Regions from separate parts of the Homo sapiens genome. Here region 2 is linked to region 1. Evidence: promoter capture Hi-C in 16 types of primary human blood cells and fetal thymus (Javierre and others, 2016). All regions are on one chromosome and are shown on one strand. Each heading gives the region's core, a stretch centred on a gene start or on the middle of the fragment in contact. The rest is flanking DNA. Distances are from core to core; before and after follow the strand shown.

Region 1 (3,264 bases), core at 765-3,264:
AAATTGTGAAAAGTCACTATACAAATGATGGAAAGTATTTTTAATACATTTATCTAAAAATGGAATTTTTCTATATTATGTTGCAACCCATTTTACTTATTTATATACACATTTTTATGTGTATGTTTCTCTACATATATATTTACATATATATAAAATCTTAAAAATCACCATAAGGAAACAAATAAATCCATAAAAATGGGAAAAATATTTAAATAGGTCATTGAAAAAAGATATATGAGTTACCAATACGCACGTGAGTAAATGCTCAATATAACATCAGAGATGTACAAATTAAAATCACATTTAGATTCTACTACACGCCTACTAGAATGGTTAAATTGAAAAAGATTGGGCATATCTAATATTGCTATTTATGTGGAGCAAATAGAACCATCCAATATTCATGTTGGGAATGGCACAACTTTTTGGAAAAAAATACATTTATAAAATAAAACATACATTTTCTATGTAACCTAGCAGTTTCACATCCAGGTATTTCTTCAAAAGATTAAAAAACGTGTCAATAGAAAAACTTTTGCATAAATGTTTATTTTGACCTTATGATATCCAAGAAGTGGAAAAAGCTCAATGTCATAATGGATACATTTTATTATAAAATAGATAAAAATATTTTATGTCTGTACAATGAAATACTACTCAGTAATAAAAAGAAATTAACTGCTGATCTGTGCAAAAACATGGATAAAACTCAAAAACATTATGCTCAGTGAAAGACATCAGACTTACAAGAATTGCCAACTGTATCATTCTGCTTAACAGGAATTTCTAAAACCAGCAAAGCTCATGTTTATTGACAGTAAGTTGGCTGCTGCCTGGCTTCAGGGGTGAGGATGAACTGCAAAGCAACAGCGGGGAACATTTCCCTGTGTTGAAAATGTTTTATATCTTAACTGTTGTATCTTGACTGTTTTCCTTTTTGGAACAAAACTAAATTTCACTCAACCATACTTGAGTAATCTCTATATTTTTCTATACATGCTTTTCTAATAGTTCTTTGGATACAATCTTTTGTTAACAACAAAGGTAGAATATATTCATTTCCTCATGAATTTTCTGTCTTTTTTTTCTGTCCAAAAATGAAAAGAGCAATTTTGTTATCTGTCCTTTCCTTCTGCCCAGAAATGATTAAACCTGTATTTCTTATTCTCTTCATATTTTCTTTGTTTTAATTCCTTTGTACTACAGTTTCTTCTCTATTCTCATTTGCTTTTCCTCTTCAAGTTTCTCTCTCAGAACAAATGCAGTGTTAATCCCGAAGCCGCTTGCGGGACACTGGCTTCTTCTCCTCAGTTTCCTCCCTAATATATTTGTTGAGGGGTAATACAAAATCACTGGGAAACTGATTAGAGCAGATTTGAAGACAAAATTGTGGCCTGGTAACTTAGCAAAAGCATAATGGTGTCATCTTGTATGCTGATGATAACGTTCTGGGCACTTTGTTACTTTCGTTTTCTTTTTTCCCTCTGTGTGTCTTTGTGTGTGTTTGTGTGTGTGCTCACACCCACACGTGTGACTTTGCACGCATTTGTCTTTGAGAGAGAGATAATAGTTTTTGTTTTTCTTTCAGTAGCCAAAGTTTAAACCATTGCTTTTTCTTTGATTCTATCGCTTTTAAGGTGATCTTTCTTAACACAGGATAAGAAAGCAGTAATGTCCTAAAGAATGCTGTTGAATTAATTAGTATCAGCCTCTCCTACAGTTCTGGAAGGATACGTGGTTAAGTACCACTCCTGGATGAATCAGAAAAACAGCCACTTGAGCAATTTCGTGTTCTGTGGTTCAGATGAGAATCCCAGTTGAGAAAGTAAGAAAATATGTGTTTATTCTTCAGCTTTAAATTGTTATATCACAAACTTCCTTCCTCCTTGGCAAGCTTTCTTTTTTGACGAGAAGAAAATTGTAATAAACAACAGTATGACTAATAGATAGTCACATGGTTACTTCCAGTTTGCAAAATGCTATTTATACTTTGAGTTACTCTTCAAAAGTGGTATACCTCTAGTTTGGAGCTGTGCTGTAAAAACAAGAGTAACATTTTTATATTAAAGTTAAATAAAGTTACAACTTTGAAGAGAGTTTCTGCAAGACATGACACAAAGCTGCTAGCAGAAAATCAAAACGCTGATTAAAAGAAGCACGGTAAGAACATTTTTGTTTGTTTAGAATGACCGTTATTTATTGAAATTGTGATGCAGAATGTTAAAGCCTTCGAGAAAAGAATTAAATTTTGTGGTTTCTTTTGTGAAACTAGAAAATTCCTTCTTATAACAAGATTGAGATTTGCATATGACTGTTTTGTCCTAATAAATTCAGACTTACTTTACATTATTTGAATTACAATGGAGAAGGATTAACCATGACTTAAAACTGCTCAAGATTTAGTTTCATTTTTACTAAGTATTTTATAAAACAAATACTTGAGAAGATGATAGATATGATCCAGATACTCATACAGTTCTCAGAATGCATACATAATATGATAAATTTAGCCAATAGTTCTAATATTTTTAAAGATTGCTTTATTGGATGGTGTAAAGATACTCCGGGCTTTAGGAGTACTTAACGGAAAGAATATATCCCTTTCCTACTCTTACTAAGGAATTGCTAGTACTCCGATATCCATGGAGATGTCTTTACCAACCCTAAGAAGGATAAGGAAAGAAAATGTTCTAAAAAATACACTATGAAACAACCTGGTAACATTGGATTTATTAAATAGCAAGTTCGGAATATATAAGATCCAAGCTACATCTTTGAGATTTCAACAGGGTTTATTTATGTCAAAATATTTGAAAGAGAAAAGGCTGAAACTAAATGCATTCAATACAACGATCTATGATTTAGAGATTTAGGGACTGTGATGAGCTTTAAGCATTTCCCGTTTAACTAAATGTCAACCTACCAGCGTATGCTACGGTCAAAAAAATTATTGCTGTGGTACAATAGAATGCACACTTTATCCTTCCTCCCGTATTTTAACCGGTTTTATAATTCTGCCTAAAGTTAGATAAAACAGGTTTGCGGGGAATGAGATCAATATTTGATGGTAGCATAAAATATCATTTTAATCAAAAGTTTTAAGAAGGCCTTCCAGCCACTAGTAAAACCAGTGTTATTTTCTACTTTCAATCAATTGTATAAATTTATACATTTGTATATAAATACATTATATAATACAATATTATATATCATATTACATATGAATATATTTTAAAAGTTACTGAATAATATATTCAGTAT
Region 2 (3,264 bases), core at 234-2,733, 2.5 Mb before region 1:
CTGAGGCAAAAGAATTGCTATAACCCGGGAGGTGGAGGTTGCAGTGAGCCGAGATCACACCACTGCACTCCAGCCTGGGCAACACAGCGAGACTCCGTCTCTAAAAACAAACAAAACACAAAACAAAACAAAAAAAGAAACAGGTTCATTGTATTAAAGCACCGAATACGAAGTTTCTAATAATGGAAAGGTCTACTTTGTAACTAGCATGGATTACCCCATGTAGAGAGATTCAAAAACTGTGATAGCTCTACACCCTGAACCCTGAAGTGTATCAGATGATAAAAGATAAAACACACTTGCAGATCAGTCCCTTGTTGCATCAGGAAAATCACTGCAATGGGAAATTACTCTGGTGTTTACTTTTCTTTGGTAACTCTTTCAAACCTAGCTTTAGCAACATTGTAATTCAAGAGTCATCCTTTGGTTACAAGTAGAGTTAGTTTCACACAATGGACCTTTGTTCACAAGCATTCTCAGTCAACCTAATCCTCCTGTAGTTATTGGTTAAGACTAGGGTGTGTAGCTGTTGGCCGTACAGGCCTAGACTTAACTTGCAATTGCATAGCGCTTCAGGTCTGCAAGCTCTTTCAAAACAGAGGTGAAGATACTGTCAAAGGTTAGACCATATGGCAAACTAAGTGTCAATGGTTTAGTAACGTTGCATTTGTGTGTGTGTTTATGGAGGTGGGGATGGGGCCAGCAGTAATTTAGAAACTTCCACAACCTATGCCCTATGCAGTTCTTTTCCATTCATTCAGTCAACAAAAATATTTTAGTTAAATATTTACTGAGCACCTATTGTGTACCAGGCACTATGCTAAGTGTTAGGGATACAGTTTTAATATATGTTACAGACACCAGCATTTTCACCATTATTATCCTATCTACAAACAATAAATCCCGCAGAAAGCCAAATACCTTCCCTGAAGTTTGTCTTGCAGATAATATTTAACTCAAGAATTGCCATCTTTAATTGAGGACTCCATCCTCCAATTATGGAAAGAGGATTCTCAGAACTATGCCCCCAATAGGATGCACTATAAGCCCTTGAACATCAAAAAACTGCTCTCAGTGGTTGCCTCTGAGGAGGGAGACTAGGAGACTGGGGCACGGGGGTGAGGGGTAGACTTGTCTCTGTGTCTATTTTTGTACTGTTTGACATTTTCCCCATGTGCATTTATTTTAACTTGCGCGGGCCGCGAGGCAAGGCTCACCTGCAGACCCTCGGGCCACCAGCAGGGAGGCACGCACTCCCCCTCGCAGCGCGCCCAGCCCGGGGTCAGCGGTGTGGCTGAGCTGGGGGGGAGCGCGGGGCGGTGGGGGGAGCCACCTCCCTGCGGGGCTCAGCGCTGGGGCCGGGAGCCCGGAGCCTCCGCGGGGAGGGACGCGCTAATGTTGCCGGGAAGCAGCTCCGGGTTGCAGGGCAGGAACGTGCCCTTCCCCCGCGGCAAACTTGCCGTCGCTGCGACGGAAGCAGGAACTTGCTAACCACAAAACCCGCCAGGCCGGTGCGGGAGCTGCGGAGCATCCGCTGCGGTCCTCGCCGAGACCCCCGCGCGGATTCGCCGGTCCTTCCCGCGGGCGCGACAGAGCTGTCCTCGCACCTGGATGGCAGCAGGGGCGCCGGGGTCCTCTCGACGCCAGGTAAAGGGGTCTCCCCAATACCCACCCCCGACCGGCCGCAGGCGACGTCGCTACCTGCGGAGAGAGTCGGTCCCCTCCTTTCCAGGGGCCGAGGCTCCTTCACCCACACCCGAGCATCCAAAGGACCAGCTGGGGCCAATAAGGGCTGACCAGGATCCTTGAGTCGCTGCAGTATTCCAAAGGGGACCTCTAGGCGGGCTCAAGGCACCTGCCATAAATGGCTCTGGCTCTGCGTTGACATCAGAAGGAGAGGCAGAAGAATAGCTCAGTAGGCAACATGCATTTCCTCAAAGGAAGAGAAAATGTTCCCTGTTTTCTTGTCGTTGACTCTGTATTCATTATTGAAACTGCTAATTGTCTAATTCTCTGTAGAGTGTGTGTGTGTATACAGTTATAAGCATCTTGGTAAATTATAGTGTGCTGTAAGACGATTTCCAATATTTGAACTAATTACGTGCGAGTAAGTTTTAGCGACTCTTGTATGCAGACGTTAAAACTCAGGGGCATCCTCTCTCACCCGCCTGTATCCTTTTACCCCGTCTTTCAACAAGATTCAACTCGACTTCAGGCCCTTAAAGCCTAAATAATAATGGATTAGAAAACGTCGCTAACCTAATATTGCTGAGCCTCTTTAATGATATAAAACTCTTAAACACTTCTCTCAATGCTGCATACTGAAAACAACTCCTGCCCCATCTCCTTACATAGTTCAGGTTTCTTTGCAAAAGCTTGAAAAGAGGCTACATTAGAATCCATTCAAAATAAAGTATTGGCCTGGTTTTCTCTTGATTCCCTAGAGGCTTGCAAAATATGGCAGCGTATTAAGTACCTTGGCCAGAATTATTAACCTGGGGAGTCCACGATAAGGTATCCATGGATAGAATTCAGGATGTCTGTGAACTTGAGTGGAAAAAATTATTATTTCACCGACTTCTGAAATGGAATGTAGGCAAAAGCCACAGTAGTATTAGCAGTAGCTATGATTTGCCCCCTGTAAATATTGCCGATATCTTTATATCACATGACTTGTTGCACGTTTCAAAATATTATCTATACTCAATACCACGTCAAAATTATGGCAGTTATTAGATGACCACTTGTTACTTAATAGGTTAATAAAGAAGCACATATTATGTCCCACAACTTTTTGTAAGTTTTAACTAAAATGAGGATAATAATGGGATCTGTAAAGATTAAATGACATGATATATATAAAGTGCTTAGCATAGAAACTGGCATTTTAGACGCAATAAATGTTACTATTTTACTGTATACAGAATTTTGACAAACAGCAAGAAAAGTATTAGACTTGTGTTTTATTACCATATACTGGTTTGTTTCTGGGTTTTTTTTTTTTTTTGGTTTTACCTTTTTTTAAAACTAAAAGTCCATAGTTCACATAATGTTCACTCTGTGTGTTTTACATTTCTATGGGTTTTGACAGATGTTCAATAACATGTATCCTCCATTACAGTGTTATACAGAATAGTCTCAATGCCCCAAATATCCCTTGCACTCCACCGATTCATCCTCCCACTCCTGTTCTCCTGGTGACCACTGGCCTTCTTACTGCCGCTGTAGTTTGCCTTTTTTAGAACGTCATACAGTTAGATTCAT

Evidence for each region. The method cuts DNA at HindIII sites, captures the fragments that hold promoters and counts their contacts. A CHiCAGO score of 5 or more calls a contact.
Region 2: a contact is called between the fragment with the promoter of MANSC1 here and the fragment with the promoter of CLEC2B in region 1, in 1 of 17 cell types (non-activated CD4 T cells). The highest score is 6.2, in non-activated CD4 T cells.

What each region holds. Positions count from the first base shown.
Region 1 is chr12:9,868,104-9,871,367 of GRCh38, reverse strand. It overlaps CLEC2B (C-type lectin domain family 2 member B), which reads left to right and starts at 2,014. Exons shown (of 5, transcript NM_005127.3): 1 at 2,014-2,163. The HindIII fragment of the contact is 5,556 bases long and covers 1,900-3,264 here.
Region 2 is chr12:12,348,461-12,351,724 of GRCh38, reverse strand. It overlaps MANSC1 (MANSC domain containing 1), which reads left to right and starts at 1,483. Exons shown (of 4, transcript NM_018050.4): 1 at 1,483-1,647. RefSeq lists a silencer at 1,173-1,482. The HindIII fragment of the contact is 5,175 bases long and covers 1-2,377 here.